Regions from separate parts of the Homo sapiens genome. Here region 1 is linked to region 2. Evidence: promoter capture Hi-C in 16 types of primary human blood cells and fetal thymus (Javierre and others, 2016). All regions are on one chromosome and are shown on one strand. The core of a region is centred on a gene start or on the middle of the fragment in contact, and the rest is flanking DNA. Distances in the headings are between cores, read along the strand shown.

Region 1 (4,668 bases), core at 582-3,081, 64 kb before region 2:
TGAACGCGGGTAGGGTGGTCTAGGAAATGCTGATCTTTGCAGGCCATCTCAGGGTTTTGGTGTAGCCCCAGCCAAAGACAGAGATGTGTAGAATCTTACGTCTCATCTCTGACATCAAAGGGACTCCACTGGCTACAAGGACCCATCCCAGCTCTCCATCTGGAACCACAGTTGATAGCAGGACATTTTCCTGGTCAGTTTTTCTTGGGAGATTTTTTGTCTGAGCACTAAGTTATTCCATGTGGGCAATTTTCCCACTTGTTTTGGGGTCACTGGACCATACTTCCTTCTGTCACTTTCTGCTTCTGCACAGAGCACCTGCAGTGACCTTATTCCTTGCAAGTAAAGAGATGCTTTTTCCACTGAGGGGCTCCTCCTGCTGGTCTCTGCAGAGAGAATGCAGAGTCCCTGAGGGTCAGTGAAAAGCTGTGTCTGTTTCCCTCGCCCTTAGAGGGTTAAAACCAAATGCACCTGACAACTGCTGGATAGTCCAAAACTCTACCATGCCTGACCATGAGAACATAATGGCTGCATTTGCCCAGACGTTGCAAGCCCCTGGCTCAGAAACAAACCCAACAACAGAAAAATAAAGGGTAAATAAATCTGGATGGGAATAAAAGAAAAAAACAGGGCCGTGTGTATTGAGTGAAGTCCTTGCTCTTCTCCTAACTGGACATAGAGTTGGGACAAGTCTCTTCAAGCCTTTGTGGGCCTTTCTTTCATGTAGCCTAAAAAAGAATGTTAGGCCAGATTAATTCTGAGATTTCTGAAAACCCTCATAGCAAACAGCTTTGGCTCTCACAGCCTGGAATGGTTTCAAAAGAGAGTAACAAGAATGGTGGAGGGCTCAGAATGGTCAGTTCAGAAAAGAGATTGAAAACACTGGGAATGTTCATCCAGGAAAAGAGAGGACGGGGGATGGTGATGGTCCTCTGGGTTTCAATCAGCCCATTTGCATGTGATCCCATTAGTGTAACTTTCTTTTTTTTTTTTTTTTTTTTTTTTTGAGACAGGGCCTTGCTCTGTTGCCCAGGCTGGAGTGCAGTGGCACAATCTCGGCTCTCTGCAACCTCTGCCTCCTGGACTCAAGTGATCTTCCTACCTCAGTCTCCCGAGTAGTTGGGACCACAGGCACATACCTTCATGCCCGGTTAATTTTTGGTATTTTTGGTAGAGACAGGGTTTCACCATGTTGCCCAGGCTGGTCTCGAACTCCTGACCTCAGGCAATCCACCCGCCTCAGCCTCCCAAAGTGCTGGGATTACAGGTGTGAGCCACCGCACCCAGCCAACAATGACTTAACTTTCACCAGCTCACTCAGAGCGGCAGCCTGTTTGCAAGTGTCCCCCAGTATTTCTAGAGTGACTTGGGGGTGCCTCATGTGTGCTCAACACACACAGCAGTTTTCTGGTCCCCATAGTTCTACTCTCATTGGCCTGATCCAGGCCTCTGCCAGGACACAGGGCGCTGCTACCTCTTGCTGGGGATCGCTGTCCTTGCCACCACAGAGATGCTCAAGACCAGAGAACCGCAGGCTCTGCAGTGCAGTGGAGGAGTGAGCCTCTCTCCCCGTTTCGTGTTAGTCTCAAGATGAGTCCCAGAGCTGGTTCCCCAGTGACTACCACATGTTAGTGTCAACCATTCTTTCCATTTTTGTGCATAGCTTTTTTGCTCTCCATAGATCTCTTAACGAAGTCCAATGGGGGCTGAGTAGTGAGACAGATTCTGCTGTGAGCTGTACACTGGGCCATGCTCAGAACCTCTCCTTTCCTGTCACAATTAAAGCTCAGTGACCAAGTTAGGTGTTAATGCCTGGTTCCTTCTTCCTTCAAGACGAGCTCCTTCCCAGGAGGCTCCATGATCTCTGGTGCACATAGGCTTCTAACAGGCCCATGCAGCAGTTCACCAGGCCTGCCCAGACCTGCCTGAACCAGGTCTGGGCCCCATTTGGGACTCCCTGCATATTTAATGTGTGGCAGCCTGCCATGTCAGAGAGGCACTGCGCTTAAGTTGCCCAGCGAAAAGAAGACCAGTAAGCAGAAGCTACACAATGACAGGGATTGTTTTCCTCAAATGTTGAGTAAAATCTAATAGATCTGTCTATTAGAGATTTCTCAGATGGTTGTGAGTGCCCTGTAATGTGACCCATTTAGACAGATGCCTGCAAAAGCCCTAACAGGGATGTCGTAGAGAAGATGTCCTGAGTGTCAGACATCCAGCCCTAGAAATCTGAACATCCTTCATGTTTCACTGCTGAGATGCTTGTTGGGAAAGTACCTCCTGAATTGTCCTAGAAATAGGCCCCAGGCTTCACCACCAGTTTCATTGCCCATGGAGAATAACCACCCCAAATTCCTCTTCTGAATCTTGTACCCAAGGCTGAGGCCCTCCCGGTTTGCAAATGGAAGAGTGTTGTATAATAGCCAGGACCTTCTGCAACATGGAAGGGTACTTCCACATGACTGGGTCCAAAGAAGACCCACTGGGCATCATCATACTTTTGGGAATCAAGTTTATGCAGGAGAAAAGATGATTTGGGGAGTACAGTAGCTACGCTCAAATATACTAGGGGCTGCATGAAGCAGAAATTTCATATTTTCAGCTTAGGGAAGTAAAAAATGCACAATAGGCTGGAGTCAAAACATTTAAGATTGAGCTATAGTCTCCCTGCATGCAAACTGTGGAATCCCAGACAAGTCACATGAACTCTCCAAGACTTTATTTCCTCACCTGTAAAACGAGCCTAATAACACACACATTGCAAAGTTGTTGTGATAATTATGTGAGAACATTGTGACCTGCAATTGGTATTCCCTAAGCTGAGCTTTTCAAGTGTGTCTTACCCAGCGCTCCACACCCAGTGCCTGGCATGTCACCTGCTATATATAATGCCAGCGTTCAGTAAATGGCCCTTGAATGAAATTGATGTTTCCTCAAAAGACAGAAGGCAGTCAATAGTTAAAGGTTCTAAGGAAGCTAAATCTCTCTTTAACTCAAGGAAGCTCTATCGAACAGCCAGAGCTGTCCACCAGGCTGATTCAGAGGCAGAGAGCTCTATTTCATGGAGGTATTCAATCCCAGAGCCTTGACCAGCTGCCAGAGATGCTCTAGAATGCACTCTCCCTGTAGAAAGATCCCCATAGGATGTGAGAAGCAGAGAGTAGCAAAGCCACATTAAGGTGTAGCTACAGCACTGAAAATCTGTCTCACTCACCAGGCAGGAATCTGCCTCACACACTGGCATCTCAGCACATGCGGTGCAAGCTCAGACCTCACCACAATCGCAAATTATGCCGTGAGCCTTAGGGACACTCACAAATTACAGCAAATATTAAAGCTACTCACACCAAGGTCTATTGAAAACCATGTTATCTGCCTAGACATCCCAATCCAACATGCTGCAGTGTTATGGCTCCTCACTTGTATGTTTGCAGCAGGTAAGAATCGGCATCACTCATTCATTCAACAAGCATCGATTGAGTATCTAATCTATGGCAGGCACTGCACTGGGGTGGGGAAGTGAGGGCAGTGGCTGAGTCAGGGACCAGGGATGAAAGCAGGAATAGGGTACAACCTTTCACACAACAGATTTGCTCTGCCTTAGAGACAAACATATCTATCAGGGACAGAGACATTCCATAGCAACCAAACAAATCAGGGTATAATTACAAACTGTAATAAGCAGCATGAAGGAAAAGTAAGAGGGATATTGAGGGACTATATAGAGGGCCAGTGTCAAGAAAAGGTTTCTCTGGGGAAGCAACATTTGACCTGAGAGCTGGACGCTGAGTCCACTTTAGCCAACTAAAGACTTGGGTGAAGCAGTTTGGAACAGCAGGAACAGCATTTGCAAAGGCCTGAGGCAGGAAAGTGAAGTTAGTCAAAGGACTGAGAGAAGGCGCATGTGGTTGGAAACTCTCAGCAAGTGAGGCAGAGGAGGAACTTGTTAGATATCTTTTCTATCTTATCCTAAATTCAAGAGATAACCAGCAAAGGATTTCCAGCAAAGAATGATGAGAACAGATTTGTGGCTTGAAAAGATCACCCAGAAGAAGAGAGTGGAAAGAGTGCAAGAGTGGAAGCATTTTAAAAACAATCATGGTCTCAGAATTTAGAAATAACTTAGGGTCACCATCAGAATATTGGGAGCTAGTAAAATTGAGTGTTTATATTACATTCTTCAAATTTCAGTAATAAAATGGATCCCAAAGTTGAAAAAAAAAAAACAATCATGGTCTGCCAGGTGCGGTGGCTCATGCCTGTAATCCCAGCACTTTGGGAGGCCAAGGCAGGTGGTCAGGAATCCAAGACCAGCCTGGCCAAAATGGTGAAACCCCGTCTCTACTAAAAATATAAAAATTAGCCGATTAGCCGGGCGTGATGGCTGGTGCCTGTAATCTCAGCTACCTGGGAGGCTGAGTCAGGAGAATTGCTTGAGCCCAGGAGGCGGAGGCTGCAGTGAGCCGAGATCGTGCCACTGCACTCCAGCCTGGATGACAGAGTGAGGACTCTGTCTCAGAAAATAAACAAACCAAATAATAATAATAATAACAATCCTGGTTGTCTGGAGGGGAGAGTGGTGACTTGCATGAAAGTAAGGTGGCAGCAGAGAGGTACTAACAAATACCGATTTCATTTGAGCTACCACTTACAGGAAAAGGTAAGAGA
Region 2 (5,039 bases), core at 2,173-4,672:
ATCTTCTTCTGAATTAACTGAGCCCAGCCCTCTATTCCCCCACTGCACTTCATGGGTGATTTGTCTGTAGATTTAAAATAGCCGGGTGCAGTGGCTTACGCCTGTAATCCCAGCACTTTGGGAGGCCGAGGCAGGCAGATCACGAGGTCAGGAGTTCAAGACCATCCTGGCTAACATGGTGAAACCCTGTCTCTACTAAAAATACAAAAAATTAGACAGGCGTGGTGGCGGGCGCCTGTAGTCCCAGCTACTTGGGAGGTTGAGGCAGAAGAATTGCTTGAACCCGAGAGGCAGAGGTTACAGGGAGCTGAGATCGCGCCACTGCACTCCAGCCTGGGTGACAGAGCAAGACTATATCTCAAAAGATAAAATAGATTTAAAATAGAGGTGCCGGGCTCAGTGGTTCATGCCTGTAATCCCAGCACTGTGGGAGGCTGAGGCAGGAGGATTGCTTGAGGCCAGGAGTTTAAGACCAGCCTGAGCAACATAGTGAGACCCCATCTCTACAAAAAAAAAAAAAAAAAATTAATTAGCAAGTGTGGTGGCATGCACCTACAAAAATAAAGAAGTAAAATAAAATAGGCCCACATCCCATCCAAGAGGAGGCTCCACCTTGGTCTTGCCTCCCAGTGAGGTACTTTTGAATGTCACTTAGACTGAGAATCCCAAGATATCTCTAAAAGTGAATATGTATTGAGCATAGAGTGTACTCTGTCCCCAGCACTGTTCTGAGAACTGATATCATTTCATCTGCACAACTACCTATGAGGCAGAAACAAATAAGGAACAGGTTGGGTAATTTGCTCAAGGTCAACAGTTAGCAAGGGCCAAGCCTGGCCTGGAACCCACGTCTTTGCAATTCTAGAGCCCACGACTTCATCCCCGATGGTTTTCTGCCTCCTGTCTACATGTGGAGATACCAAGCCATTAAAGTTTGAGCGGCTCCTGCCGCCTGTGATCACCCGCAGAACTGCTAGGAGTTTAGGACTAGACTTTATCATTTTATGGAGGATTTAAAGCTACTTTTATCTGTGGGGTATTGTTCCAAAACCAAGGCCATATATTTTTATGTGTTTTACGTAAGTGCATGTGTAATTTATTGATAGCAAGGTTTGCATGCATTTGTTCTGTGAATCAGCTCGGGCTGGACTTCCTGGGAATCCCAGGCGAAGATCTCAGGGTCTCTTTCTGCTGATGGCTCTCCCTTCCACGACCGGTCCCTTCCCTTCCCTGGGCTTCAATTTCCACGTTGGTAAATGAAAGGGTTAAGCTATTTCTACAATCCCTTCCTTCTTGGGCATTGTTGATTCCTGGGAAGCCCTGACGAAGAGAGAGGACGGTAAGAGTTTACCTAAACGTCTCTGCACCCCATGCTTGAAAACTCAAAGATCAGCCCCGAAGCGTCCATGAATCCTGGGACAAAGAAAAGGACTTCAAGGCCTCATACCTATCAACAAGAGAGATTCCTGCTCCTCCAGCCCCTCCACCCCTTCACTTTTGTGCTGAGGAACCCCCCATCACCAGGAGGAAGGAAGCCTGCCCAGTAAAGGGGCACTCCCAACAGCCCACCAGCTCCTGCGCCCAGCTGCCCCTGAAATCCTCGGACTCATTTTGTCCAGCAGCCTTGACTTTGTCAGGGGTACCAGTCATGTAATCCCTGAGGTGTCTACAAAACCCCGCAGTCATGGGCTCCATGCACACTCAAGAACAATGAGGAGCTTCAAAAGCTAAGGAGGCTTTTCCCAATGCTTCCATGGTGTCTCGATGGTTCCTGAGGTCTTGATACTCTGCCATGGCTTGGCAGTTTGGAAATGGTTTCCTGGTCTGGCTGTCCTAAGGATCCCTGGTTGTGTGACTGGGAACAAACCCTTCAACCTTCCAGGCACAGTTTTCTTCTGTAAAATGAGAGGGTTGGGTGCAAGTTTCCTGAGGCCCTGGGGCCTTGTGGCTGAGTTTATCTCCCCGACTCCCTGTCCATCCTCCTATGGAAGTACTCATAAAGCATTTCACAGCCACAAGGAAAAGGCACACAAGGTCCCCCAGCCCCCACACACAGAGGAGCCACACCTGCACCCCTCCCTCAAGGCCAGGCTTCCTCTCCCCCAGCACACGCAAGTTCTTCTCGGCCTCCCAGCTCTTTTCAGCAGCTCCCCAGAATGGAACGGCCCAGCCATGGCTTCTCAGAGGACAGCTTCTTGGCAGAGCTGGGAGTGGGTGGAGTAGAGCACATTTTTTCCTTTGAGGTCCAAAGGGCTGTCAACCCTCTTCAGCTGCCCTGGGGCCCAACAGCCACAGAGAGAGATTTATGACCTGGATAGCTTTGATCCCAGTCTCCGATAAACATCAGGAACAGCTCGACCCTAAACCCCGAGGAGAAGGTTTATGGATCAGAATGCAGCCTCCTGGAGAAAACGAGCCCAGGAGGGGGTGCCCAGGGACTGATTGGGCCCTTAAAGTTCTCTCATCAACAGACCCACTGCCATCTGCCCTTGCTTTCTGGGGAAAGGGACACAGCTGGGTGGCTGAGGCCTTTGAACAAGAAGCAATGCTGATCAGAGAGAGGTGAAGATCCTGTCAAAGGTTAAACTGGGGAAGGGGTGGAGGCGGTGGGCCCAGGCCTCTGAAATTCCCCACCCTCGCTCACCTGTTCTTCCAAACAGCGTTGTCCATGTTTCTCTAAACCACACACCAAGACAGAGCAGAGAGAGAACGCACCAGATAAGATCTGAGCTGAGAAAGGAATGTTTCATCCGTGGGTTTTGTTGTCCCTGTTCTTCTTGTTGATACTGTTGTTCTTGGTGATGATGGGGGTGGTTAATTGCTTGATTATATTTCATCCCTGTCTTCTTTCCAAAAGGACAGGGGGCCAGGAGAGTCTGTGTGGTCACAAACCCTTCATAGCTTTTTCCCGTCCCCTCCACTTGACCATGTGGGATGGCAGGGAATCCACACCCTCTTGGAACATCCCCTGTTTTGCTGATTGAAAAGAGATCCTAGAAACAGCACTACATCCAAGGTGAAGGAGGGGCCAGCCAGTCTCCTCTGGATGCCACCTCAGATGGGTTGCCTCAAGTTTAAGGTCTCAGCCACATCCATAAAACTGTTCCCCTCTGTGAAGCAACTTCTGCCATGGGGAGGTGGAGAAGGATCTTCTCAAAGCAAGTCCGACAGGCAGAGTCTTCACTCTCCGGGGTCCGGAGTGTTCTATAGACATCGGGAAACATACATCCATCTAAAAAGACACCCTAATAAACCTGCAGCTATTCATTGCACCCAAGAAACCAGCCTGTGGCCCACGCATGCAGGAATAAACACATATTTGCTGAGAACCAAATTGGGTCTAATGACCCTGGCCTGTCTCGCAGGGTCATCCTGAGAAATAGCTGATGTCAGACGACGAGCGTGAGCAGCTGTTCTCCATTTGCACTCAACAAGAGAAAAGGGCCTTAAATTTCAGCGGGAGGGATTAAGGTTAAACATTAAGAACAGCTTCCTGGCTAGGAGGGTTGTGAAACACTGTAATGTGTTACCAAGGATGCTGTAGACATTCCTCTCTCAATGAGACTTTAAAGAGGAAGGAGGTTGGTGATCTGCCCAGGAGGTTTTATTAGAAACTTTATTAGGTCATCTGGTCCATCCGCCTGAAGGCAAGGGCTTGGACTAAACACCCACCAAGCAAGGCCTTTCTGGGCACAGGAAGGCCTCTATAGTCCTTCACAATCAAAAATGCTGAGAAACTCCCTGGGCCCTAGACAGTGAAAAGAGAAACCAGAGTCATCAGCGAGGCCACCCTTTGGGGCCTGATTTCAAGCTTTAGCTAGTGTTAGTCGCCCATAGCAATAAGAGGGAGAAATGTGATTTTCAAACCCTCCGGAGACCAATACAGTTATTTACCAAACAGCACCAAGTGAAGCTTCCCCACCCACAGGGAAAGGACCATTTCCTGAAAATCAGGTCGGCCCCTGGCATTCCAAGGGCAAGCAGATCACCAGTTCTGACGTGTGGGAGCAAAAGGCAAACCATAAGATCACACATCTGGCTGGGCACGGTGGCTCACATCTGTAACTCCAGCACTCAGGGAGGCCAAGGCAGGATCGCTTGAGGCCAGGAGTTCAAAACTAGGTTGGGCAACATAGTGAGACCCCATATAAACTAAAAAAAAAAAACTTAGCTGGGCACGGTGGTGTGCACCTGTAGTCCCAGCTACTCAGGAGACTGCAGCAGGAGGATCGCTTGAGCCCAGGAGTTTGAGGCTGCAGTGAGCTGGAATCATGCCACTGGACTCCAGCCCAGGCAACAGAGAGAGAGACCCTGTCACAAAACAAAACAAAACAAAACAAAACAAAACACCACATCTTATTGCCAGTGGAACAATCCACCCATTTCACAGATTGGGAGACTGGGGCCTAGATATGGGCAATGTCTTCACACAGTTACTTTGTATCAGAGTTAGGACTGGAAAACCCTGGTTAGGAGGCTGACTTTATCACTCACTACCTGCGTGACCTCAAGCAAGTCATTTAACAACCTCCGGCCCTCAGTAGCCTCTGCTACAAAATAAACAGTTTTTAATCAGGAAACCTAATACACGGAGCACTGTCATCAACTCCAGAGCACTATAGATGGAAAGTGACTGCCCTTGTTACCATCACTCTCACTTCTAGTCCTTTCTGTTCATCTAAGCTGCTGTAAATGTAGTCCTCTAACTTGGAGGGGATCCTTCTAAGTTCTCAGATTAACAGAAAAGTAAAATCTTTGATCTTTAAGACCATGGAAGGTATCTCGTTGGTCTTAGTCAACATCCCATCCAAGCCACTTGTTTTGCAGATGAGATAGGAGAGTATCCGCATACACTCAGAGAATGACAGCAGAGAACATCCCAGGCAGAGGTCGGGGTGGGGAGGAAATGCCAAGGATAAGCTTGGTTGACCTCTCAGTGAGGCTCCCTGGCCCTGGGTATAATTTTCAACTCATTAACTTGAAATCCTAGGTATGCTAAGTCATTCTTTGGTCTCTATTTCCTTAGTAGCCTCTGTTTC

The links. Contacts are between HindIII fragments. The CHiCAGO score rates a contact against its expected background, and 5 or more counts as called.
Region 1: a fragment that was not itself captured here is called in contact with the fragment with the promoter of LINC01605 in region 2 in 1 of 17 cell types (monocytes); the score reaches 5.1 in monocytes.

Annotation. Positions count from the first base shown.
Region 1 is chr8:37,533,763-37,538,430 of GRCh38, forward strand. The region is part of intron 1 of LINC01605 (long intergenic non-protein coding RNA 1605); the gene reads right to left. Among named protein-coding and RNA genes, the nearest start is that of LINC01605, 64 kb to the right of the region's middle. The HindIII fragment of the contact is 9,978 bases long and covers 1-4,668 here.
Region 2 is chr8:37,596,417-37,601,455 of GRCh38, forward strand. It overlaps LINC01605 (long intergenic non-protein coding RNA 1605), which reads right to left and starts at 3,423. Exons shown (of 5, transcript NR_170186.1): 1 at 2,645-3,423. The HindIII fragment of the contact is 9,185 bases long and covers 1-3,809 here.